Regions from separate parts of the Homo sapiens genome. Here regions 1, 2, 3, 5, 6 and 7 are each linked to region 4. The links are contacts of gene promoters, found by promoter capture Hi-C in human tissues and cell types (Jung and others, 2019). All regions are on one chromosome and are shown on one strand. The core of a region is centred on a gene start or on the middle of the fragment in contact, and the rest is flanking DNA. Distances in the headings are between cores, read along the strand shown.

Region 1 (4,067 bases), core at 487-2,986, 930 kb after region 4:
AAAACTTTTGAAACTCTTCATGTATATCAACCTTTTCTTCACTTATTAGGTCCAACATGTGCCCAACAGGGTTATGCTAGAGTCTAACTAATTATCTGCCTGGCAGCCAGGAGGCTTCTGTCATCTTAAGGTAGAGGCTTCTCCAGTATCTTCAAACACAATGGATGCGCTAACCTTTTCTGGGGAAGGTGAAGTTTCATGGAGTCAAGGCAGTAGAGTCAGTATCCTCAGGGGCATCTTATTCCAGTTTAAAGGATTCCAGATTTTTCCTACTAGAGGCCTGAACTTTTAACATCAGACTTATGTTGCTTTCTTATTTAAAAATGTTTTGTGCTATACGGTTCTCATAATTAGGCCTTCAGCCTTCCATTTAACTCTGTCTCCATCTTCAGCTACAGCTAATAAGGGCCTCTTTCTATGCTAGCACAGAGGCTCTCTAGCTCTCAGCCTTAGCCATTGAGCACTTGTTAACAGGCTCTTAGTCTCTCATTATCCTTCTGCAAGGTATCAGTACAACTTGTTCACCAGCCAATTTCTCTATCAGTATATGTCTGTATAAGCACTGCTTCCCCATATTTTTCAAATGTCTGTGTCATACCTGCCATAGCATCTGCCTACATCAAGACATTTTCTTAGAACACCTCCAGTGATATCATTAGCAATTGAGCTGCCGACTTGTGCCAAAAACAATATGTGCCCCACCTAGCAACCAAGACAGTGCCTTATTTCCCTACTATGTAATATAAGAGCCAGATCCAAATCTAATTTTACCTCATATTTTGCTAAACGACTTCTAGTACCCTCACATTCATCTAGGTCCACTGAGAAACCAATGCCAAGAAAAGACTAAATATACAATGATTTTATTAAGGAAAATGTCTTTGTATGATCAAATAGAGAAGGCACTGGCTAAGGCTAGGAAACCTGTCAGATCGTGACCCAAGTCTAAACCTGAGAGAACAAGAATGGAAAAGAAGTTGGGTGTTGAGTATTCCAGGCTGCTGTGAAGTGTAGTGTACAGACAGTTCAAAACCACCAGGGAATTCTTGCAGCACAGTTGACCATTGGAGAATGCACTTGTCTACCAGGAACAGGTCTGCCTTCTGTAAATACATAGTGCACAGTCACTGGCTGGAAGTAGCTCCTCGGAAGCATAACTTTGTCACAATGTGAGCTTAGATATTAGAAGCATGGCAATTGTTGTTCTTCATCATTTATGCTCCTTGTAATCAGAAGTTTATGCGGCACATTCTCATGTCCTCCACAATCAGGAACATCACCAGTTAGATAAATTATCTGAATAAGTAACTTCAGAAATTCCTTGAGGTACAGAACTTTGTAATACAAGTTGTATTAATGCATGATATGCTAATTAGCTAAGTCCATATGATATATTTGAATAAATAAATGAGTTTGGCCAAGTTAAATCATATATGTTCAAAAGAAGAACCCATTGTCCCTCTTTTCTTTTTTTATTACCATCAACCAAATTAAAGTTTTTAATTCCACGCTCAGGGTACTGACTGAAGCAACAAAGTTTCACCCCTTCAATCCCATGTGTCATGTGAAGTGCCAACAAAATAATCTTTAAAATTAATTGACACGTCACCCTTGTATGAGAAGCATCTTCTGTGTCATGCTAAAAAATATAATCTAAACATGCTACCCCACCCTTTGTAACCTTTATCTCACCCTCTATTCTTTTGAGTCTTGTCATCAATTTCTGACCTTTAGAGAAAATTATATTTCTTGACATTCTCAGCCCTTTCCCTTTTTCATTTCTAGACTATAGTTGATGCTGTTTAGTCCTTCGAAATGTTATCTCTTCATCATTACTTACTAAAATTTTACCCAGCCTATAAATCCCACTAAGAGCAATGGCCATGAGGATTTCTCTGATCTCCTCAGATAAAAAAAAAAATCTTGATATCCCCAAACTTGTGGAAATTTAATATTCTCCTTGTATATTTTAAATGCAGCCCTGTATTGTAGTTGTTTATTTATAAATTGTATAGCCCCCACCTAGATTGCAACCCACAGTTTACAGCAATGATCATAGACTTCAACACAATGACTTGCCCATGTAGGGGCTCATAAATGTTGGTTAAGTTACCTATATAAGAATATATTTGTCTGGTTTTATGTTAGCTATCCAAAATATGTCCTTGCCATTATTTTCTTAAATTCCCGCCCCCTCCATCAATATACAACAACAAAATAAAACAAAATGAAATTATGCTAATTTAACTTTATAAAATCATATTTTAAAAACCTGGTCTTTAAAGCATTAGAAACATTTTATGTAAAATAAAAGCCACCTCTTTTCTTTCCAATCAAATACATATATTTAAAATCAAGAGATACAAGGCAAAATTTTTATTACTTTTGGCATAATTTTTATTCAAAATAGAATTTCCCTCCTCTACAATGTTTCCTTCATTTTCTTTAAATTCTGAACAGTGTATAACAGAAGTATTCTTAAATGAAACACTTATGTTCTCCCTTTAAATTAAATCTATGCCATTTTTTGTTGTGCTACTGTATAGTATTATGTAGACACTGAAAAGCTGTAAATACCCTTTGAACCATAGAAGTAGAATACACCTCGTATCTCTCCAGCACAGAGGTCTGTGTTGAACAAGAATGACAATTTTAGTTTATAATGAAGAGGGAAAAACAATCATTTTCAAAGCATAAACATTCTTAGCTTAAAACATGAATAAAATAAAAAATCTGAAATTCAAACTTCTTCATAAAAAGCTTCTCTGGCAAAGAGAGAGAAGTTTTATTATTTTCTTTGTATTCCATCAATGAAAAGCCTGAAATTGAAAACAAATCTATAGATTCCAACTTTTGATTTAACATAGTAATTGCTTATTGTCTTTTACTACTTCTTAACTCTTTTTTTTGGTTTACATTGACAAAAAAAAATTGCAGTAGACTTTCTGTTTTTCACAACTCTTAAGAATTTGAATTCTTGACAAATATAAGTATGTCCCATTATAAACTGGCTTCAAATGAAGATTAATCAGTTGAATTGTGTTTCCCCAAAATTCATGTTGAAGTTCTAATCCCCAGAACCTTAGAATGTGACCTTGTTTGGAAATAGTGCGATTGTATAAGAGATGTAGTTAAAATAAGGTCATACTATGGAAGAGTAGACTACAAATCCGATATGAGGGATAGCCTCATAAACAAAGAAATTTGGATAAAGACACACACTCAAGAAACACACTGTGAAAATTGGAGTTATGTTGCCATAAGCCAAGGAATGCCACAGAATGCCAGCCAACTATCATAAGCTAGTAGAGTGGCATGAAAGCAATCCTTCCCTAGTGACTTCAGAGGAAGCAGGGCCCTGCTAACACTTTGATTTTTAATTTCTCTCTTCTAGAATTGTAGGACAAACATTCCGCTATTTAAGATACTCTGTTTTTGGCTTTTTTTTATGGCAACCATAGGAAGTTAATACAAGGACCTAATGTGAAGTTAACATTTTAAACCTGTTTTACAGTATAAACATAGTCTCAGGAATAATGTCAAATTATAAGCAAAATTCCTTTAAAATACTAGAAACTGGCCGGGTATGGTGGCTCACGCCTGTAATCCCACCACTTTGGGAGGCGGAGGCAGGCGGATCAGGAGGTCAGGAGATTGAGACCATCCTGGCTAACACAGTGAAGCCCCGTCTCTACTAAAAGTACAAAAAATTAGCTGTGCGTGGTGGCGGGCGCCTGTAGTCCCAGCTACTCGGCAGGCTGAGGCAAGAGAATGGCGTGAACCCGGGAGGCGGAGCTTGCAGTGAGCCGAGATCGCGCCATTGCACTCCAGCCTGGGCGACAGAGCAAGACTCCATCTCAAAAAATAATAAAATAAAATTAAAATAAAATTAAAATAAAATAAAATAAAATAAAATAAAATAAAATAATAAAATAAAATAAAAAATAAAATAAAATAAAATAAAATAAATAAAATAAAATAAAATAAAATAAATAAAATAAAATAAAATACTAGAAACTGAGCAATACCAACAAGACCACATCCATCTTTAATCCAGTTAACGAGCC
Region 2 (3,849 bases), core at 529-3,028, 760 kb after region 4:
CATTCTGCTGCTTGGCATTGTGTTGATAATAACCTTAATACATTTTACTAAGACACAATGAACATATCTGGGTTTAGCTGTTTCAGGCAGGTTAATCAGAGTGACTGACAGTGGTGTTTTTCATGGGAAAATTCACCAGAATCCAAAGCAGTGTATAAACTAGGGATAGATATATTGGGAGGAACAAGGATCAGTTGAGTTCTTGCATTTCTACATGTCTGGTAAACAGAGACATTGACTGCCTCTGTTCCAAACTGTCTTTTCTAGGATGTTAATACTTGGAAGATAGAGATAGTGGTTCCTGCTACCACGAAGTGCAGGTTTGCTGAGAACCAATGGAAGATAGAGCCAGTGTCTTCCTCTAGAGCAAAGTTCATGCTGACTGTCCATCATAAAAGTCTTGGGCTCTTTACACTCAGGATTCTTCTGCAATGTAATCCATTATATTTGCAGGTTTCAAAGGCCATCTTTGTTTTTTAATTTAAATTCAATTTTTTTCATTGTTTTGAGATAGGATCTCATTCTGTCACCCAGGCTGAAGTGCAGCAGTGTGATCATGGCTCACTGCAATCTCCACCCACCGGGTTCAAGTGATCCTTCCACCTCAACCTCCCAAGTAGCTGGGAGAACAGGTGCACATTACCACGCCCAGATATTTTTTTTCTTATTTTTTATTTTGTAGAGATGAGGTTGTTAGCCAACCTGATTTGAACTCATGGGCTCAAGCAATCCTCCTGACTTGGCCTCTTGAAGTGCTAGGATTACTGGCATGAGCCCACCATGCCTAGCTAACAGGCCCTCTTGTCACACTGTGGTAATTAGAACTTAGGAAAACAGCCCCCAAAATGCTGATACCTTGGTTATTGTTATTCCTGTGAATAATAAAGTCATTTGTGTGTGGTCAAGAGTCTCATGTCTTCTGTCAGCCTCCATAAAATTGTGGCAGGCTAATTTGTTTTCTTGAAATTAAGGTTCATTCTCAGATTCACAATAGTTCTTCAGACATAAATCATGCTTTCTATTTAATCTGATTCAAACATAAATCATGCTTTCTATTTAAATTTCTTTTCAGTTTTATAGGGAAGATGACATTAAAACTCTTAATCCATTATTTTTCAAATACCATTTAAATCAGTACATTTAGAGCTACCCATTACTATTTTGTTTATGTCATGTATTTTTTCCTGCAACAAATAAAACACTTCATGAAAATGTCCAGGTAAATGACTTGACACTGGAGGAAGGGCTATGTAAAATACATTTTAGAAACATGAAGAATGTAGCATAAAGAACCTAGAAAATCTATTCTTAGAAGGGTTGCATGCAACTGTAAGCCTTCCTATTGCTACATATCAATATATTTTGCAGTATTCTAAATAAATTAATTTATTCAAACAGAAAATGTGTCTGTCTTTGGGAAGGAAAATTGAATATGTTCATTCACCTATCATATATTCATCACTTAGCTAAATACACAAAAACGTGATCCTTGTTTAAAAAGAACTTGTGCTCAACACACAAGCTTTTACATATTTTCTTATTCAAAAACAGATGAAACTAACTCATGGTGCTAGAATTAAAGACAGTAGTTGCCTTTGGGTGGAGTTGTAAACGGAAGCTGGCATGAGGCAAGCTTCTACAGTGCTGCTAATGTCTTATTTCTCATCCCAAGTGCTGGTTGCATGGATTAAAGCTACGCACTTAGTAGTTTTTGTTTTTGTCTTATTCTGTCTGCAAGGTATACTTCAATAACAAAGTTACTTTAAAAATGTGGCAATTGTCTCCTTTTCCTGCTGTGTGGAGATGCTCTGCACCACGTGCTTCTCCACCCAATTTATCACGTGTTCTTGTTCCTTTCAACACATCATGTTCTGCACAGATATATGATAGTCCAGGCGATTCTTTACTTCCTTATATACTCTATACAGTCGTTCCCGGTAAGTAACTTCCAAAGCCATAGCAATGTTATTCCTTTGCACATCAAAAAGGTAATGGCGCTTCTGAACCAGTGCCTGTTGTGACTTCTCCATATCAATTGCATTCTGGATTTGTTGGATGGAAGCCTGCTTCGCCTCTTCTAGTTGGGCAAGGTTTTGCTCATTGAGTTTATCAGCAAAGTCTGCAACAAAGGGACCATATTTTTTAATTCCATAGACCATTACACCTAGTACTGATAGGGCAGTGAAGGTCTCTGCGCTAATCACATATATTCCTTTGCGGACCTAAAGCTGCTGGCAAAGAAGGCTCAAGCACAGCCAATTATGTAAATGTATCTATCCCAATTGAGACAGCTAGAAACAGTTGACTGACTAAATGGAAACTAGTCTATTTGACAACGTCTTTCTGTGTTGGTGTCTACTGAAGTTATAGTTTACCCTTCCTAAAAATGAAAAGTTTGTTTCATATAGTGAGAGAACGAAATCTCTATCGGCCAGTCAGATGTTTCTCATCCTTCTTGCTCTGCCTTTGAGTTGTTCCATGATCACTTCTGAATAAGCAGTTTGCCTTTATAAAAACTTGCTGCCTGACTAAAGATTAACAGGTTATAGTTTAAATTTGTAATTAATTCTACCGTCTTGCAATAAAGTGACAACTGAATGAAAAAAAAATGTGGCATTATGAGGGTGCAGAAAAGGGATGTTTGACCTAGAGGGCAAAAAATCTTCTTAAAGAAAGCAATGCCTGAAGAGTCATAAAGAGTGGAGTTAACATAGTATTAATAGAATTGGAACATTAGGAGGTTCATTTGAGGACAGGGGACTACATGAAGATGTGGAAGGAAAGAGAAGCTGAAATGGTGTTGAAAAAATCATGCAAGAAATAGCTTGAAAAGATGGCATTGGAGACAGTATAGGGAAAGATTATAAGGACCTTTTTTATACTGTCAAGGAACTTAGGTTTTATAAGCCAATAAAGAGGAAAAGTCTTAATATTTTGAATTGATACATCCTTGTAGTACCCTATTGAGGATTGATTTAAGGGCATCAAAGTGGAAAATACTCAGCTCCAGTACCAGAGAGTCAAGGCTGTGGATTTGAGATCTGCTTAGGGTGCAAATGGAAAGATCGGATAGGTACCTGTTCCCCTGTGTCTATGTGCAAGGTGTGTCTAGAGAGGTGTTCTTTTTCATCAAATTCTATAGGGTTATTAAAGAATAAAACTCATGGCCTCTCAGCTCCAAATTAAGGCTTTGTCAAAAATCTCCCCATTTCTTGGGTGTCTTGCATTCTGTTTCTTGGGTGTGCTGGGTTCTTAAGCTTTGATATGTTGGAGGAAGGGGGAGGAAGAGGAAACAAAGGCTCAGTCAGGGTTTTGCTAGTATCTTTATTTAAATCTGCAAATAAAAAAAAATTACCCAAGACAAGATACTAGTAAACTCTATCCAGTGGGGAACCGCCAATGGCACTGTTATAATACTCGAGTTCACATTTGTCTTCAACTTTCCCTTAAGGGCCAGGTGGAGAGGCTCTCTAATTTTAGGTCCATTCACTGGTAAGCATTCCGACATTTTTTTTTTCAATTGGTATCCAAGGTTTTCATTAATTATGCAGTACAAATCCTTTTAATATTGCACATTTTCATTGTCCTAGGGTTATGATAACAAAACAATACCCTTGAAGGTTGAAAATATATTTCATTCAGCCCAGTTGATTTTTGCATACTGATTACTTTATATCCCAGCAGTTAATCTTCAAGCTTGGTGTCATTTCAGTTTCTTAATTTATACTTATCTCAGACCCCAGACACAGAAAACATGCAAATGGAAAAAGAAATGTGAAGTCTGACAATGAGTTTAATTTCTACGGCTCACTTTTCCATCCATTGCAATCATTAAATTGTGAATGTTCC
Region 3 (3,818 bases), core at 961-3,460, 910 kb after region 4:
CAGCTACTTGGGAGGCTGAGGTGGGAGAATTGCTTGAGCCCAGGAGGTGGAGGTTGTAGTAAGTAGAGATTGCTCTACTGCAGTCCAGCCTGAGAAGCAGAGTGAGACACTGTCTCAAAATAATAATAATAATAAATAAACTGAACTGAGATTCTAAAGCCTACCAATTGGCCAAGATGTCACGTCGGAGACAGTCAATATCTGTCCCCCACCTCAACTGATGTAGGTCCCTCTTAGGGGTCCCAACAATAATAGATAGCCATTTTTCCCCAGGGATATCATGTGCACCCCCAAGAATATTTACTGTGTGGAAGCCAGTTACTACCTTTCCTCCCTCCCAAAAACATGTGACTTGCACTCTAAGGGTAGCAATAAAGATCTTCAAGTGTTTAAGAAAACACGACCAATAGATCATGTACATCTAATATGATTGTGCAGATCTCAAAAATGAGACTAACTTTGCATACGCATGGAGGATATTTAGATGTTTCACTTACTTGTATATGACTATAATTTGTGCTTACACTGTGAGAACTTATTCTTACATGGGAGTCCTCTAATTAAAAAGAGTATGAATACAGGTATTTCTGACATTATCTAACGTAATGAATTACGCCACCTTGACAATGGAAGGCTACCAGACTATCCTCAAGTCACAGGTCAGGGAGGTTATGGATGGTAGAATTGTCTTATGCAATCTCTAATACTTCCTACCGCACCTGGTTTATATTTCAGGCCAAGTAGAATTATTAATATGAAAGTTTAAGGAGAAATATCAATAGAGAAATTTTAGGAGAAAACTACCGGCATTTCTAGGATAGACTCCAATGAGATTTCTGCAGTTGAGCCTCTGGGATCCTACAGGAATAGCAGCGGTCAATACTGCCAGATGGCTTCATCCTGATATCTGGGATTGTGTTGATAGTGGTCGTAGTCTTAAGTAAAAGCTGTTTGAGTTGAATTGAACAGATGTGGTTTCAGTTTTTGTTGGTCATATTCATCTGAGTGACTAATATAATAGCATACATATGAGAAAATTCTTCAGAAACCAGGAGAATGTCGAGAAAATTGTTGTCAGATAATTCTCTGTAGATCTCTCTCATTTCTGCATATCTTGAATGCACAGGTACTAATTGACCTTTGTTCTGGAGCAAAGAGCAGCCATGTATGCTGTTTAGAATAATGAATAAGTTGTCTGTCTGTGGCAAAGATCAGGCCTGCTGACTCCCGGTTTTGAAAGACTTGGGTTCCATAAGCTCAGGAATCCTCTCCTGTAGAATGTGTTCAAGCATTTATCTGGGCACTTCTTGGAAACAAAGGAAACTGGCAAATATGCAGATGCTCATGCTTCTTGCTTTGTTGTGAGTAATAAATTACTTTTTACTTTAATACAATGCATATTAATTAAATTTTAGGTCTTTAATAAACAAAAAATAGTTTTGCATTATATAGAAAACTGAGGAGCATTTGATAAACATTTAAATCATTTCCCAAGTTTATATCATTTTACTCAAAAATTCAAATTTATTCAGAAAAAAATGAAGCCTCTAATATTAATATTTAGAAGAACTAGGAACACCCTTGAGCTAGATTGCTCTGGGATCTCATCACAGAAGAGGCATGAGGTTAGCCAGGGATTGGAGGTTGACTATGACTTTGCCAACACGCCTAATGGTGTAAGGTAAAGATAAGTGAGAAGATAATATGATCAAAGTTATAGAAACGGAAATATGGAAAGGAAAAAATGAGACATTTACTCACTGAAAAGAACATTAATTAGGGTAAGCAAAAGAAAAACAGTAAGAATCCGGTATTTTTGTATGGCATAAACTTGAATATTCAGAGAAAATTATGATCTCAAAATGTTAGAACAATTTTCTTATTTGTATTTATTGAATTCTATTACTTCTCTGGGACTAGAACAGTTACATCAGATTGACACTCACAGATTTACAAAAGTGCATTGTTTTTCACACAAGCGTTTTTCAGGATAGGAGCAGGGATAGTTAGTTTCCAATGAATCTGAAACCAGTTTATGAATATGGAACATTTGGGTTAACAATTTGCATTGTGTCAAAGATACTCATCTCACAGTTAGCACTGTTTTTTCAAGTAACTCAAAACACTAAGTGGAGAGAACAAACAGACGTTTGAATATCTTGGTGTTTTTACATAAAAGCTACACATTATTTCCAATCTGAAGGCTTCATTTTCATGTTCATTTGTGGAAGCTGTAGTTATAAATTTAACAGGTGGTGCATTCCCTCGTGCCAGAACAGGGCAGATGGATCCCTCCTCACTGTTGCTGGTCATTAATGGTAAGCAGCTGCCCCACCAGAAAAGTGAGACAGCAGATGAGTCACAACCTCATGTTAATTCATTTCTGCAGTGACTCAACCACTTCATTTTAATGGGCTTGTTCAAACATTTTCTTTCTTCCATTGTACATCACAACTTTAGTAATTAAAAATTGATTTCTACATACCACACATGCGCATGTATGCTGTGTGTATATGTATGTATGTTTTACTTTTCTCCTTAAAATATAATTCTCCCTTATAAATAGGAGGCTGTCATCATCCGATGGTGGGTTATAAGGCATACCAGCGATGCTGGTTTCCCAAAAATATTGTTCTTTATTAGCACATTTTAGTTCTGACAATTCACATTGTATATTTGTTCTGTTAGTGTAAGACATTTGGCCTTAAGTGCCTTTTTCAAATGCAAATTATCCTTATAGCAACACTAAACCATTAGCAGTTATTAATAATTTATCTTGGACATGTTTATTTTATGAGGAAGACTGCAAGTGAATTTTGACATCCATAGTAAGAGCAGCAAATTTCACAGTTTAAGAATAATTTATGCTGGATACGATGGCTCATGCCTGTAATTCAGCACTTAGGGAGGCCAAGGCGGGTGGATCACTTAAGCCCAGGAGTTTGAGGTTAAAGTGAGCTATAATCACACCACTGCACTCCAGCCAGATTGACAGAGCAAGGCCCTGTCTCAAAAAAATAAAGAATAATTTACCATATCTGACTGTGACCAGTAATTTCTTGGGAAGCTTGTGAAAAAGAAGTTTTCAGGCTTTAATTCCAGAAACTCTCTTATTTAGTAAATGTGGATAGGGCATCACAATCTATTTGTACAAGTCCGTTCTCACGCTGCTATGAAGAAACACTGGAGACTGGGTAATTTACAAAGAAAAGAGGTTTTTAATTGGCTCATAGTTCCACATTGCTGGGGAAGCCTCAGGAAACTTAGAGTCATGGTGGAAGACACCTCCTCACAGGGCAGCAGGAGAGAGAATGAGTGCCAGCAGGGAAAGTGACAGATGCTTATAAAATCATCAGATCTTGTGAGACTCACCATCACAAGAATAGCATGACGGAAATGCGCCCATGATTCAATCACTTCTCACAGCGTCCCTCCCGTGACACTTGGGGGTTATAAGAACTACAATTCAAGATGAGATTTGGGTGGGGACCCAGCCAAACCATATCACTACTTTTACTAAGAAGATCAGGTGATGTTGCTGTGTCAGTAAATCAATATTTGTGAAAATTGGCAGAGCATCATCTACTAATAATCCAGTTATCTGAAATACTGAAAATTAAAGTGTGTGCACATGCACACACGCGTGTGTATGTGTGTGTGCTCATGCACATGGGTATATGCCTGCATGCCCTGTGGTGATGATGGTGCTGCTGGCAGTGTGGGGTGGTGGGGTAAAGTGTATCCTCTGCCTCAGTGGCAGCAATGTGAGGAACTCTAGCCCCAGTGCCTGAGAAACACCTGCTGCCTGGCAAGTGCAC
Region 4 (3,739 bases), core at 493-2,992:
AAAAAGAGAAAAAGCACTCCAAAATTCAAATTAAGAGTCATTTCTAGCACAGAAAACCATCACTGGTGATAAGCTCACCACACATGTATGATGCATTTGTGTATGTTTGCCCAAAGAAGATGATGAAGTACTGACATTCTTCGAGTGAGTGGACTCAGTTGTCATTCCTCTCAACTTTTTATACTTCTTGTCTTGTGAATACGTTTTTCTTTCATTTATGAGAGAGAAACATCCTCAACAAGTGATCAAAGTCTTAGTTGGTTTTTAAAAATTCAAAATTCTTGCCTTCATTTCAAATATTTTTCAGGCTTACTTACTCATCAGCCTATTATGACAAAGAGAAATCATGTTCACATCTTCTTTTATCAGCTTCATGTGTACAAACATAAAAATGGAATATCTTCAGTCACCTAGATACTTCTCGTCCGATCATGAAGTAACCGCCAACGGGGAAAGAAAATTCCCCTTTCAGCAACAGTGAGGTCTCTCTTCTGCTCTTTTTTCATGACACTTTTCTGGGGATGGGGGACAAAATAAAAATTCTCTGAGGCTTCAGGTATGCTGAGAATGAATATAAACTGATGACTTAAACATTCTGCAATCACTTAATAGAAATTTTAGAATCACAGTAAAATCTCATATTATCTGCAACCTAAGCTAGGGCAAGTGATTTTTTTCTTATCCATTTACACGCACTTATTTGGAAACCAGTGACCGTCAGCAGAAGACAAGCAACTAACAATACAAAATATACAAGATAGAACTCTCCCGACAATATCTATAGTTTAACGCCACTAACGTGGCTTCAGTCACTTAAAAAATGTTTGTATTCAAATGCAGTTTACACAAAGATGAGTCCTGCTATCCTTGTTATTTCTTGTTCCCAAGGACCGAGGGACAAAAAACTGAAAGTTGAAAAGATCTTTTTTTTTTTTTTTTTTTTTAATTCCGGGGGAAGGTTTAGAGTTCATGGGATCAGAAGGTATCTTCCTAATGAGAACTACTCGGACCAGTCACTTTTCTCGGCGGGGTAACCGCGAATCGTGACCAGGCGCCAAGCCGAGGGGCGGGAGCTCCGCGCTCGGCGCTCACCTGTGGCCGAGTCCCTGTCCTCAGGTGGAGCCGCCAGAGGGAGCTCGGACCCCGGTGTCGAAAGACGCCTCTCCGTGCCCGTCCGCGGCTGGAAGAACCTAAGCAAGTTTCAGTCTTGGACAAGTCTCCCCTCTGTAGGAAACATTCAGGCTAGGAGTTTCCTGATCCGCCCCGCCTGTTGCATTTTTTCACTGGCGTCCTCCGACCCTGCCGCCCCCATTCTCCGCTCCCCGCTCTGGGGCTGAGTGAGGCAGGATGGCGAGAGACCCCTGAGCCACCAAGTCCGCTTACCTCAGGCAGATCCCGACGGGGGCTCGGCGCCGCACTGGGCCCCAAGGGAGACGGAGGTGGAGAGTTCCAGAAAACTGCTCTGCACGGCGGGCCAGGCTCCCGCGGGGCTCCGCAAGACCCCCGCGTCGTCTCCCGCGCTACGGCAGGCGCTGCCCCAGCTCGGTCTCCTCAGCCGCGCTCGGTCCCCGCGACCCGCACGGCCCGGACACGCCCGCCCTCAGGAAACGCCGGACGCTTGTGGGGGCAACCACGGACCGCAGGACAGAGACCCGCGGGCGGCGGGTTCTCTCGGTGGCGCCGTATCCAGAGCAGCGCCCGCGTGCCCAGGCGGTGATGTCGCCGCGGCCGAGGATCCTCTGTGCCAGCTCCGGCCGCGCAGCCCGGGGAGGGTGAGACGGCGACGCGGGCCGGCAAGCGGGGGCGGGGCGGAGGCAGGACGGGGCGGGGTTGAAGGCGGGGCTGAAGGCGGGGCCTCAGGGAAGGCGAGAGACAGCGACGCTGGCTGGCGGGCGTGGGGCGGGACGGAGACAGGACAGGGCGGGGTCAGAGGCGGGGCTTCGGGGAGGACGGGAGGAGCCGTGAGCAGGCCGGCGGCGGGCGGGGCGGGGCCGAAAGCAGGTGAGGCGGGGCCAAGCGCCCCGGGTTTCTAAGCGGAGGAAGCTCTAGGCGTTTGTGTTCTGGGCTTGCAGCGGTGGCCGCGCGCTCCCGGAGGAGTCGAGCTGGAGGAGGGGACAGTTTGGGAGTGCGAGAGTCTAAAGACGCTGCCAGGCTGGCGTTAAAACCTTTTGGTTATGGGAAGACGACAACTATATAATAGAGCCATAGTGGGGGCTGTGGGATTGACTCAAATGATGGGAGGAGCTGGAGTGGGAGGGGATAAGCCCTGGGACGACAGAAATCATCCTTTTGGAAAGAGCAAGGGCTGGGGAAGGAGGGAATGAGCACTCCCTTGGAACTGAGAGGCAGCCTGGCTGAGCTTGCTGTCCTTTGGAAAAGCAAAACCGAAATACCCAGATTAATATAGGAGGACAACTTCTGTAGCCCAGATGCTAACAAAGATCAAGGGAAAACAGAAAAGACTAATCAGCTTTACTGATGGAAAACAATTTCTCAGGCAGTATAAATAGGGGAAGCATGGGACAAACAAGTAGAAGGAGCCTCTTATTTAAAAATGGGACCTGGTATTCGGTAAAGACCTACATGCAGACAGGAGAAGGCAGTGTGCCCCGGCTACTACGACATGTGAGTGCAGTGCCAGGTCGTGGAAATCCTAGAGCAGGCTGGGACTCCTGTTGCACTCCACACATGGAGCTTCTCACAGATAGCTGAGATGACACTTTGGCATAAACCAACCCAAGCTCTGACCTCAAATGTAAAAAATAATAGCTTAGTAGTAATAAAAATACAGGGAAATATCAAGCTTCACAAATGAACAATTCCATTCTCAGTTGGGGATTAGTAACACATTCAGTCTCTTCATTTCCCATACTATTTTGGTAATATTTAATAAGATATATTTTAACATTTTAAAAATAAATGTCTTGCTTAGATCATTTGCTGCTGAAAATCAAACAGTAGACGACTGCTAGCAGAATAAATTTCAAATCATTTAACTTTGAGGTGAAATGTGGCCTCTAACTCCTCATCACTCTTCTGTTTTGGCCCCGTAGTAACCCCTAGCCCAGTCCAAATAGCCACACTTGCTTTTGCTTGGGTGCTTCAGTAACTATGCTTATTCCATTCTTTCCCTCACAGTGTCCTTTACCCAACCACCCCACTTACTAGTTAAAATTCTTCTGACTGTTGAAATTATCTGATCATCCAGGTCTCAACTCAGATGCTTACATTCTTCTGTAAATAACTCCTAAGTTTCCCTAGCCAGAATGTATTACTCCAGAACTATATCATTTGTACCTATATTCGGCCGTTTAGGTTGTTTATTTTCTGCTTTCTATTTCAACTGGTTGACTCCTGTACCCTATTCAAAACTCCTTCAAGTCATGAGTAGCACTCAAGTCCCCTTTGTAAGTACTATATCTGCTTTTGAAATGAGTTGAACCTCGAACAATTGGGCTGATACAGAGCCTCGTCTCCTCCACTGAGGTTTATTCCCAAACAAGGATCCTCTTCTGACACAACTTCCTGTAAAATCTGGATTGTGCCTCTACATGGCCCCTGATAGAGGAAGAGGACCCATGGCCTCCAACCACATTTATGAGAGAGTAGAGTTGGGGGAAACGGGGAGCTGACTCCAGAGATTCCTATCTGTTTGCAGAGGGGAGCCTAGAATTTAGGGTTAGTAAACACAGCTACTAGATGTACAGAACATTTCTCAGAACAAAGTGTGGGGCAGGGT
Region 5 (3,622 bases), core at 490-2,989, 850 kb after region 4:
TTATGTAATAATAAAGGCAAATGAAAGATTTTTGTTTTCTTTGTGAATAAACTACTGAAAAAAGAGACAGATTGTTAGGAAAGCTAAGTCTTCCCTCTTAATGAGTGAAGATTTTTTGCCTTTTTAAAAAGTTTTGAGTCATCATTTTGGCTAAATAAATGATTTGCAGTAATCTGGAATTCTATTTCACAATATCAAGTGTTTTAAGCCTCTTAACAAATTTAACAGTCTTCCTAAAATAAAATTTCAGCTTCAAAAATTGTCTTTTCCGACCCCTAACTTTTGGATGCCACAAAGTGCCCTAGAGCATACAAAACAGAGGCAAACAGGATTATTTGACATGTTTAATTACATGGGATTGCCAAGATGAAAACAAGGTTTAATCTTTCTGAGTTCATATTTTAGTGAATAATATTAATATATGTACTAAAATTGTATGAGATTTCTAAAATTCTAATGTCTGAATATATGCTCTCAATCATAATTAAGGTTATTATGGTAAGTTATTGTAAACCACAGAAATAACCAAATCTTTTTGTCAATCATGTTTTTAACTGTAACTACCCTGGACATTTTGTCATTCACACACAATTGTTGTCTTGCTTTGATCCTCATAGAAATGGTTTATAAACAGCTATAGGTCTTTGACAGGTACTCTCAAACACACGTTTCTGATAACTTTGGAGATTGTGACATTGGAATAGAGGAAAAACGTACAGGACAAATGAAGAGCTAAAATGTTCATGAATATCAAGCAGAACAAGAGATAACAGAATGGACTGAACTTACAGAAAACTAAAGTAATCCTTTTTAACTTTTTGCTTTAAACATTGTTGATCCTTTGTTTTTCAACGTGAGGAAAACCTTTATATTGAGTTCATTACAGCTTTTAACAATTGAGTAAGGTATACTTCTGTGAACAAGATTTGGAGCATATTTGTTTCTCTCTGCCTGGTTTCTCCAAAATTTGGAAGCTATATGTGAGTATTCTTAAATTATGGCAATATAATTATTTGCATACTTGCAATAAGAATCTATTTTTATTTATTTATTTATTTTTTTGCAGCAGCAAGATACAATTGAAGAAACTAGTGGTTTTACCAAAGCTTTCACTGGAATGCTGGAAGGGTGTGCTTCCCTTTCAGGAACCAAGCTTCACTTCTCAAGCCAATAAAAGCCCCTTGGGAAAACTGGCATCATACCTTGTCTACACAGTCCCTGTACAGATTTCCTAACAGGTGATAAGTAAAGATTGTAACTTTCTCACGGGCCCAGGTGCCCCAAGTTCTCTTGGATCCTCAAGAAAAAAGAAATGTATCCAACTCATAGGTATTTGAGGGTACAAACCCATGGCCGGGCTGGGCTTTAAAAAATTTTATCTGAGATTCCAGTGGTGTTCCAGCAAAGCCAATTTTTTAAAAGCCTGTGTGAAAATAATGATTCTTGATGCTCTTTATGCAAATAATCAGGTCAAGGATAAGACTAAAGTTTATTTTGCAAACAACTCAGACCTATTATGATTTGTCTTTAAGAAAAATGAATACTGGAGAGAGAAAAATTACATTTCAAAATTTATCATAAATGTGTCATTAAAATCTAGTCTCATTAGCATTTTTTAAGCTTTTGTCTGCATTTTAGACTGAACTTGCTTATACCTGTGAACCAACCAGGGATTTCTGGCTGCAGCTCAGAAGGAACAAAAGGGATGTCTAATGTAAAAATCTGGATTAATATTCTAATTCTGGGCAATTATCTTGCAAATTCTGCCAGGTGATGAGGGTAAACCCATAACCTGGAGATTACTATGTTTGGGAAAATAAGACCAAACAAGCTGACCAAAGCAAAGCTCCAGGCACCCAAGTCTTAGCAGGTAACTGGGCATGCTGGCATCCTCAGGATTTTTGAACTGTCCTTACCCCTTGTTCCATGTCAATCCATGTTTTTTAATTACTCAGTTTGTCTCTTCTAGCCTTCAGTCCATCAAATTCAAATGGTCATGCAACCAGAACATTGGATGATCGCTCTCTTCTACCAAGGACCCTTAGATAGGCCTCCAAGGGAGATCTGACTGCTGTCTTCCCAAAACAGTGTACCCTGTCAGCAAAAAGTAGTTAAGATCGGTCATGATCCTTATCCCAATGGCAGTTAGATGTACCACTTCATAGGAAGGAATTGATAGCAGCAGGAGCCAGGCAAATGCCTAGGCAGATAGGGTCAGGTCCCACGTGAAACCCCAACTTCAAGCAGAAGGCAGTTTAAAGCCTGGCTAAAAGTCCCAGGTAAATCCACAGACCAGTGGAGATTGTCTTCCCATTTGGTGTACTTTCCTCTGATCCCTACTCTTCACCTATTTTACATATTCCTACCCTTTCCTAGTTGGTTTTCTACACTGCTGTGCCCACCTTTGAGTGATGCCTTTGCTTTAGCCTTTCTTTGCATACTCACCACCAATCAGCACACACCCCCCTATTCTAAGCCCTTAAAAGCCCTGAACTCAGCCATGCTGGGAGAGAAACCACCTGATGGTGGGAGTGGAGAACCACCTCCTGCATCCCCTCTCCACTGAGAACTGTTCTATTGCTCAATAAAATTCTTCTCCGCCCATCCTCATCCTTCAATTGTCAGTGTATCCTCATTCTTCTTGGATGCAGGACAGGAGTCTGGGAACCACTGAACGTGGGTACAAGCTGTAGCACAGGCAGGTCAAGTGGGTGGGGCACCTCCAGTGGCAGCCCAGGGCCAAGTGAGGCTGAACTCAGCTACAAGCTGTAGCACAGGCAGGTCGAGTGGGTGGGGCACCTCCAGTGGCCAAACGAGGCCCAGGAGGGACAATGTTGCTGGTCTTTGAGGTCCTGTGTTCGCAAAATGACCTAGAAAAATCCTGTGTCAATATTAGGTTATAGAAATATTATATTAGTTTATGAACTATTTTTCTGCTTCTGCCATTGTAATAAATAGTCCATGAGGGCAGTGATCCTGTGTCTTTTGTTCACCATTGTATATTTTGCTGCCTAATCCAGTGTCTGGTACGTGGTGCTTAAAATATTGGCTGAATGAGTGGATAATGAATTTAATGTATATTTTACAGCTTCTGTCTAATAAGCTTTGTGACCATTCCAATATGTGTAAGGGAAAATTATAGAAAATTAAAATATGATTTCCATTTTTGAGCAATTCTGGGCAAATGGATAGAGGAAAGTACCATTTACTAAGAAAAATGGATGAGAGATGAAGGATGGATCAGCAGAGGTAGAGGAATATGTATGGAAAGGGGTTGAAGACATGTTATGTATAATATTTTTTGAAAGTTACAAGACGTCCTAAGATAACCCAAGTAGGTAGTTGGATATATAGGCTAGAAATTCAGTAGAAAGGTCTGGGCTATGATTTTGTTTTGTTTGTATATTATGAGCATTTAGCAGATGCTTAAGGCCATGAAAATGTATGAAAGCACATAGAAAAAATGTAAATATTTAGAAATAGAAAAAAACAGGATTTTCCCTGTGATTTCTAAAATTTAGAGGTTCTTGGGAGGACCTTGAGCTTTTTAAGTGACAGAAAACAAGTGGCTGATGAAGTGAGAAAAATACAAAGTCATTTCTAGAAGGAAGAAGTGCTCACC
Region 6 (4,070 bases), core at 824-3,323, 950 kb after region 4:
TCTACTCTATCGTTAAGGCCATGCAATAAAATTTTTATTTCAGATGTTGTGATGCTCAGCTCTAGAAATTGCATTTGGTCCCTTTTTATATCTTCCCTTTATCTCCTCATTATGTTCAAGTTTTTCATTACATTTATAAATATATCCATAAGAATGTTTTAACATGACTGTATATTAATTTCATCTCCTCTGTCATTTCTAGGTATTTTTTTTTTTTTTTTTTGTGATGGAGTCTCACTCTGTTGCCCAGGCTGGAGTGCAGTGGTGCCATCTTGGCTCACTGCAACCTCCTCCTCCCAGGTTTAAGTGATTCTCCTGTCTCAGCCTCCTGAGTAGCTGGGACTACTCGGGAGTGTGCCACCATGCCCACTAATTTTTTGTATTTTTAGTAGAGAATTTCAGGTATTTTTCTATTAACTGATTTTATTTCTCATTAGAAATAATATTTTCCTGTTTCTGTGCATATTTAGTAACATTTGATTGCGTACTGAACACTCTGAATATCATGTTAAGATTCTGGAGTTTGTTATCCTCCTTAAGAAATTTTTGAGTTTTGTTTTGGCAGTCAGCTAAATAGTATGTAGATTAGCTGATCCTTTTGTGTCTTGTTTTAAGCATTTTATGTTGGATCTAGAGTAAGCCTAGCTCTGGGCTAGATTAGCTGTACTATGAAGGCATGATCCCCATTAATGCTCCCATATATTCAACATGGTCTCCCTGGCTTGACTCATCAGAACTCACGCATTTCCAATTTTGCATGAGCTAGGGGAATTGTTGAGTTCATAGGCAACTTATGGGGTTTCACCTTACATGTGGTACAGCTGAGTACTCAGCCAAACACTCAGGGAACAGCATGAAGACTTCTGGACTGCTCTCTCTGCATAGTTTTCTTTTCCAGGATGACTTTCTTCACCTCCCACTGTTCTCATTTCTGTTATGTTAGTTGACTGAGAATATTGTTTTCTGAATAGTCCCCTATCCCTACACTACAATCCAGAAAGTGACTCCAGATCGAAAACTGAAGTAATTATAGGGTTAATCTAATTTATTTCCTTTTTATCAGAGACTACAGTCTTGTGCTCCCTTTTGTACAATGTTTGAAAATAGTTATTTCCTATATATTTTTCCCCTGATCTAGTTGTTTATGGCAGGTTCCCTTTACACTCTCTTGTTCAGAAGTAGATGTTTAGTATTCCCCTACTAATATGATTTAAATACACCACAATATTATTTGAGGAAGGTGATAATTATTCTTGATTTCCGTAAATTACAAACAATGATTGTGATATCCCCCAGGATTGCAGTGTATAGTGTCTGTTTAATAAGTAGAAAATGTCACCAATGATGAAGTGGGCAACACTTAGGGCAGCATGTTTTGTTCTTGCTGTAGTTGTATTACTCTCTGCTACACTCTGAGCAAGTCATTAAAATTCTGTATTTTAGTCTACATGTCACATTTACTGATCTATTGACAGGGCCTACATTAGTGCGTGTCACCCAGCAAATAATAAAATACATGTTAGATTAAAAAAATTCTGCAGAGATTCTTGAGTCTTTACTTCATAATGGTGATAATTCACTTTGATTTTATATGAGATAGAAATTTGATTCTGTTCAACGACTCGCATTGAATGTGATGGATCTCAAAGTCTTCTGACTAGATTCTAATTTCCTATATTTACTACAGGTTTAATCCTACCCTATTAATGTTATCAATATGACAATTAGACTGTGCTAAAGATGTCTTTCAGAGTGAGTCTTAGCCTCACAGCCCCATGAGCAAACACCATGTAACCCTACAACCTGGATCTAGTGGTGAACATCTGTTAAACTAGTCTTGTTCTCTCTCCTGGAAATTGAGAATTGATACTTAGAAAGTCAAGTTAATGAGCTATTGATGCAGGACAATGGCCCATAAAGATATTTGCCATTGATTCTGAGAAGTGAACCTCATTCATGCTGAAGTAGATGAATTAACACATGGAGGGTGGGGCAAAATAGAAACGCATTGAGAGCAGACATGCAGTGGTGAGGAAAATGAAAGCACACCTTCCTATCTGATGGCTTAAGCAGTTTCGAGTGCCAGTCTCTCTCAAAGCACGGCTGTACTTCCTGTCTGTGAGTTCTGTGAAATCTCCTGATTCTTTATAATGGATGCCCTTTCTCAATATGGCTCAATTAGATTTATTTTTATTGTAATGAAATCATATTAAGACAAAGCCCGAGAATATGTAGTTCAGAGTTGGTGGAGGGGAAAGAAACCAAATATTGGAATGAACTGTAAATAAAGATTTAGGAATTCTTCATCAAGCTTACTAGTTCTTAGCTTTTAGTTCATAGGTTTCATTCAGAATCTTTTCAAAGCTATGAACCTTTTATCCAGACAGTTCATATTCATACAAATTTTTTCATACAATTTGACACCATGAATGTCATTCAAAGACTCTTTTAAAAAGAATATAGGTGAGTCATGTTAAAACTATGAATGAAGTTACAATTTATGTTAAAAAATACATGTTTTCAGACATAAAACAATTTCAAAAACATGAAGTATTAATTGGCTTTTGAATTAAAAACAGATCTTATCATCCAGATGAGTAGTGTTGTATTTTACTAAAACTTTTCTTCCATGAAGTTAAGACTACAACATTCTGGGCCCCATTTAAAACATTAATTAATAGAAATTAAATCATGTCTCTATGGATTATTCATCTGGTTTGAAGATTTCACAAATAAAAATTTTTCCTTTCAGTATTAAGAACAAAAAATCAGGCAACCTATGCTAAGTATATTAAATCCCACTTGTATCCCTTTTCCTTTGTTAGCTTAGATACAAAGTTAAAATGTCATAATACAATATATTTTTGGTTTAAATAGAGGTTCCTATAGAACTGGCAGGCTTTTTTGAAAAATCTGAAATATTTTATTCACAGGTATTCTATCAAAGTCTGCTAAAAAAAAAAAAAAAAAGAGCATCCATATAGCATGGTTTCAGGGACACCAAAGAGGCTGACTGCCCAAGAATATCTCTCCTGATGGTCTGTCATTTCATTGTCTATGGTTCATTCTTTGTAAGCAGTCACTCTGCAGGAATCCACTTTTAAAATGCCATTACTGTCGGTTTAGAAGTACAGAGAAAAGGTAGTTATGCATAATTGTCTTCCAAATTTGTATTCTGTTAAAAGTGATTTTTTTTTTTTGGTCCCTTAAGAAAGCAGCATGTCAATAGCCATTGATTGACAGTCAGTGCTGCCTCTTGGATTCAAAAAGGCAGAAAATTCCCCATGGAGGTCATGAACAAAAACGTCCTGAGCTATGGAAGCAAAGGGAACAGGGCTTTCTATAGGATATGTTAATAATGCAAAGATAAAGCAGGTAAGACAGGAGAGCAATGTCTAAGAGCAACAGGGAAGGAAACAGCTGTGGGACCAGAGAAGAAACTATTGTAGTAACAACTTCTTGTTCACTTTAATGAGAATTAACTGAAGAATCAGCATGGGCCAGAACTGACTCCTCCTCTGAAGAAAAAGAAAAAGAAAAAGAGAAAGAATGAAAGAAAGAAGAAAGAAGAAAGAAAGAAAGAAAGAAAGAAAGAAAGAAAGAAAGAAAGAAAGAAAGAAAGAAAGAAAAGAGAAGAGAGGAGAAGAGAGGAGAAGAGAAGAGAAGAGAAGAGAAGAGAAGAGAAGAGAAGAGAAGAGAAGAGAAGAAAAGAAAAGGCTATTAGCTTTAAAGGAAATTTAATTTTAAAAACTGGACACACATAAGGCTTCTCAGTAATTCTAAAGTTGCATCATCGGACCAGCCAGGCCAAAAGCTAAAAGCAGACATTAAGTAATTTCTGTGTGTGTGAAGTACTGGATATAAAAAGAAAGATAATAAGTGAGAACTTTTGACAGAGGACCTTGATAATAGGATTTTTCTAAGTAGAAATTTTCAGCCTGGGCTCCTGCAGAGAAAATGTGGGAGCAGAACACAGACTCCAGAGCAAGGTTGCCTGGGTTCATGTATCCACCTGACTCCTGTAGACTCACAATGCGATCGTGTGTCTTCCACATTAACATTTAACCATT
Region 7 (3,982 bases), core at 1,139-3,638, 980 kb after region 4:
TCTACTAAAAACACAAAAATTAGCTGGGCATGGTAGTGCGCATCTATAGTCCCAGCTACTGGGAGGCTGAGGCAGAAGAATCGCTTGAACCCAGGAGGCGGAGGTTGCAGTGAGCAGAGATTGTGTCATTGCACTCCAGCCTGGTTACAGAGTGAGGCTCCATCAAGAAAAGAAAAGAAAAGAAAAGAGAAGAAAAGAGAGAAAGAGAAGAAAAGAAAGAAAGAGAAGGAAAGGAAGGAAGGGAAGGAAGGGAAGGAATGGAGGGAGGGAGGGAAGGAGGGAAGGAAGGAATCACTATTCTCCAATGCTGTACAAAGTATGGAGAAATAGAAAGTAGCACAATTTGCTGGTGGAGGTAAACTTGCTACAACATTTTTAGTATCTTTTAAAAGCAATGATGTTTATGTCTATCAATGCAAAAATATAACTGTACTGAATCTCTCTTACGGAAATAAAATGCACTTACAGATGAATCTAATAAGGTATATATATGTACTATATATACACAAATACATATATACACATATAAAACACATACATAAAATTATTTGCTGTTCCACATATATGTGCATGCATATATATTATACATACACACAGAGACAGATGGGAATTTTTTACATGCATAATCATATATTATACTACATATACAATATATTTGTTAATATATATCATATGTACATACAAAGATTTTTATTCACATTTTATAGAGAAGGCAATATGTACAGAAAAAAGTAGAATACTGTGTCAGAATTTATCCTATTTTGTTATTAATAAAATGTAGGCAGTGTATGATGGCTCACACCTGTAATCCCAGCACTTTGGGAGAGTGAGGCAGGCAGATTGCTTGAGCTCAGGAGTTTGAGACCATCCTGGGCAACATGGTGAAACCCTGTCTCTACTAAAATACTAAAAATTACCTAGGCGTGGTGGCCCACACCTGTAGTTCCAGCTACTCGGGAGGCTGAGGCACGAGAATCTCTTGAGCCCCATAGATGGAGGTTACAGTGAGCCGAGATCGCACCACTGCAATTCAGCCTAGGCTACAGATTGAGACTCCATCTCAAAAAAAAAAAAAAAAAAATTAAATAAATAATTTATAATATATATATGTGCATAGCAGCACACGTGTGTCTGTGTGTGTGCACGTATATATAAATATATATGCAGAGGGCTACACATCAAAGGGTTACTACCAGAGAAGCAGGACTGAAAGAAAGAATGGAAGGCCTCCCAAAAGCCATTCCTCACTCCCCCACCCTCCATTTCCCTTCCTTCCAATGTACTGGCTGCAAAATCAAAAGTAACTTACCAAGCCTGGCCTGCAGTTGGCTATGTCCACGTAATCAAGTTCTAGTCAATGAGGCAAAGGGAAAGTCAGCTAGAGGAATTCCAAGAAATCTTTTGGCTTCAGGATGAAAGAGACAGAAACAGCTGGCTCTGCTTTTCCTCCTCCTTTTCTGCCCTACACTGAAATATGATTCTTGGAACTTCAGCAATTACATCATAGCCATAAAAAATGCCTAAGGAATCACCTCTGCACTACAGCTATGATCAAGGCTGCCCACTGCTTACCAGAAGGCTTCTGGGTATAGGAGGAAAATAAATTCCTATTGGTCACTATTAGTAGAAGTCTTAGTTCATTTTGTGCTACTCTAACAGAACATCTGAGACTGGGAAATTTTTAAAGAACAGAAATTTATTCTCTCACTCTTCTGGAAGCTGGGAAGCCAAGATCAAGCTCCCAGCATCTGGTGTGGATCTCCTCACTGCATTCTCACATGACAGAAGGTGTGAGGGCAAGGAAAAGATGAACATTGTGTCCTCACATGTTAGAGAAGCAAAAGAGAGGGCAAACATACTCCTACCAGCCATCTTCCTAGCACTATTAATACATTCATGAGAGCACAGCCCTCACGACTTAAACACCTCCCCAAACACCCCACTTTCCAACACAGTTGCATTGGGGATTAAGTTTGCAACACGTGAATTTTGGAAAGAAAGACATTCAAATCTTTGCAGTAGGTTTTTCTATTATTGGCATTTCCAAGCATGCCTAATGATTTAAAAAGGGACATTTTTCTTCATTGCTTAAGTTGCTAAAATAAACATGTATTATTATTTTATTTTAAAAAAATGATTTTTAAGGAGAAAAATAAAGATAAAAGAAAATAGCGGCAATTAGAGCAAAAAAGAAACTTTTAGAAAGATATAGTTATCTTGTGTCATTGTGCTCTAAAAATTGTACTTATTTTAACAAAAACATATTCACTCACTAGTTTGTGTGCCCTTTGTTAAGTAACCCTGAGAAGCATTTAAGATACACTTTCCTTATCCCACAATCAAGCTTTGAGTCCTTTGCTAAATCACCAAAAGAGATACCAAGGTTAGTGTTAATAAAAAATAGGTATTTATTGTCAAGTGTATATGAAAATGCTCTACTGTAATTATTCTTTCATCTACACTGAAAGTCTTTTAAAAATGTAAATATAAGAGCTATTCAAGAAACTTCATCTATACAGAATTAGAAAACTTCTTTATCCAAACCCAATGGAACATACTCTACAGAAAAAAATTGTTTTTCTGGTTTGAATTTGCGGCAATGGCAAATCAAATACTAGCTTATCACAATAATGGCTTAAAATGTAAAGATAAGTAACCAGTAAGGATAACATTTCAGTGCCTGTATAACAAATTAAAAATAGAATATTCCAAGAAAATATAGCATTATAAAGAAGACCAGGGTGGGAAGGTGTGGGAGGGATAAGGGAATGGTTTATGTAGGGAAAGCTTAAATACAGGCAACACCTAAACCAAAGAATGGCAGAGATAAGGCAACAAAGAAGTTTTGATGCTGTTTGCAAAGATGCTCAGGGTATGTGGCAAAGCACAAAATAAATAGCACACGTATGAAGTCTGTTTTGTGTTGATATTAGCAAGGAAACTACTTTTATTAGTAAGGAGAACTATATGCCTACCATGTTTTATGTGTCTTACTTGTTATGTGTAATAACTATTAGCTTAGGATTGGGATGATTTTCCTCCCTCCTGTACAGGGTTTTTCAATTTCATTTCTCTCTTTTTTTTTTTTTTTTCTTGTTGTTGTTGTTGAGATGGAATCTCGCTCTGTTGCCCAGGCTGGAATGTAGCGATGCAATCTTGGCTCACTGCAACCTTCACCTTCTGGGTTCAAGTGATTCTCATGCCTCAGCCTCCCAAGTGCTGGGACTACAAGCATACACAACCACGCCTAGCTAATTTTTTTATTTATTTTTTATTTTTGTAAGTTTAGTAGAGACGGGGTTTCACCACATTGGCCGGACTGGTCATGAACTCCTGACCTCGAGTGATCCATAGGCCTTGGTCTCCCAAAGTGCTGGGATTACAGGTGTGAGCCACTGCTCATGACCTTAACAATGCTTTTAACATAAATTTCACTGTATATTACTTAGAGAGCAGCCCTATCAGCAAAAATTGTGAAACATTAGGGGTAAAAAAGATACTGTGTGCCTTGTCTAGCATACTTGATGCTATAGGGACCCACTCCTTTAACTGTCTTTGAGCTACTTAACTAACCTGTAATTTGTGGAAAACTATTAATTACGCAAACTTGCCCTTATAATGCAAATAAATTTTGTCCGACAAAATGCTGTTCATTATCACTCTGTGGATATTGAACAGGGTTGCATCTATTTGTAAATTCATTTTAGCTTTTTTTTTCCTCCCAGTATATGAGTGAATTGAATTGTCATTTGAACTTATTACAACATCTTGTTACTTCCATCATTCATTAATACATTTAAACATAATATCTGATGTGTGATTATTAAAAATAAATTCCTTAGAGTAGTGAAAAAAACAGATGAATGAATAATGAATGTAAACTTTTTTGAGAGTCAGAGAATGCCTGCTGCATAGTCAGCTGCAGATTTTGGATTTTGAGAATGTCTCTTGCCTTTGAAATTCTGTGTAACTTCAGCTGTTA

The links. The method cuts DNA at HindIII sites, captures the fragments that hold promoters and counts their contacts. A contact is called where the count stands out against the background at its distance.
Region 1: a contact is called between a fragment that was not itself captured here and the fragment with the promoter of DSEL in region 4, in 2 of the 25 tissues and cell types used here (IMR-90 fibroblasts and lymphoblastoid cells).
Region 2: a contact is called between a fragment that was not itself captured here and the fragment with the promoter of DSEL in region 4, in 4 of the 25 tissues and cell types used here (H1 embryonic stem cells, lymphoblastoid cells, mesenchymal stem cells and 1 more).
Region 3: a contact is called between a fragment that was not itself captured here and the fragment with the promoter of DSEL in region 4, in 1 of the 25 tissues and cell types used here (hippocampus).
Region 5: a contact is called between a fragment that was not itself captured here and the fragment with the promoter of DSEL in region 4, in 3 of the 25 tissues and cell types used here (heart right ventricle, mesenchymal stem cells and mesendoderm cells).
Region 6: a fragment that was not itself captured here is called in contact with the fragment with the promoter of DSEL in region 4 in 1 of the 25 tissues and cell types used here (dorsolateral prefrontal cortex).
Region 7: a contact is called between a fragment that was not itself captured here and the fragment with the promoter of DSEL in region 4, in 1 of the 25 tissues and cell types used here (mesenchymal stem cells).

The regions. Positions count from the first base shown.
Region 1 is chr18:68,449,644-68,453,710 of GRCh38, forward strand. No RefSeq gene overlaps it. Among named protein-coding and RNA genes, the nearest start is that of LINC01912, 190 kb to the left of the region's middle. The HindIII fragment of the contact is 8,525 bases long and covers 1-4,067 here.
Region 2 is chr18:68,276,028-68,279,876 of GRCh38, forward strand. No RefSeq gene overlaps it. Among named protein-coding and RNA genes, the nearest start is that of LINC01912, 13 kb to the left of the region's middle. The HindIII fragment of the contact is 3,395 bases long and covers 82-3,476 here.
Region 3 is chr18:68,425,966-68,429,783 of GRCh38, forward strand. No RefSeq gene overlaps it. Among named protein-coding and RNA genes, the nearest start is that of LINC01912, 160 kb to the left of the region's middle. The HindIII fragment of the contact is 4,712 bases long and covers 1-3,818 here.
Region 4 is chr18:67,514,978-67,518,716 of GRCh38, forward strand. DSEL (dermatan sulfate epimerase like) reads right to left here and starts at 1,743. Exons shown (of 2, transcript NM_032160.3): 1 at 1,384-1,743; 2 at 1-515. DSEL-AS1 (DSEL antisense RNA 1) reads left to right here and starts at 1,569. Exons shown (of 5, transcript NR_033921.1): 1 at 1,569-1,772. The HindIII fragment of the contact is 11,831 bases long and covers 1-3,739 here.
Region 5 is chr18:68,360,355-68,363,976 of GRCh38, forward strand. No RefSeq gene overlaps it. Among named protein-coding and RNA genes, the nearest start is that of LINC01912, 97 kb to the left of the region's middle. The HindIII fragment of the contact is 4,045 bases long and covers 1-3,622 here.
Region 6 is chr18:68,466,112-68,470,181 of GRCh38, forward strand. No RefSeq gene overlaps it. Among named protein-coding and RNA genes, the nearest start is that of LINC01912, 200 kb to the left of the region's middle. The HindIII fragment of the contact is 3,476 bases long and covers 336-3,811 here.
Region 7 is chr18:68,493,570-68,497,551 of GRCh38, forward strand. No RefSeq gene overlaps it. Among named protein-coding and RNA genes, the nearest start is that of TMX3, 220 kb to the right of the region's middle. The HindIII fragment of the contact is 3,382 bases long and covers 698-3,982 here.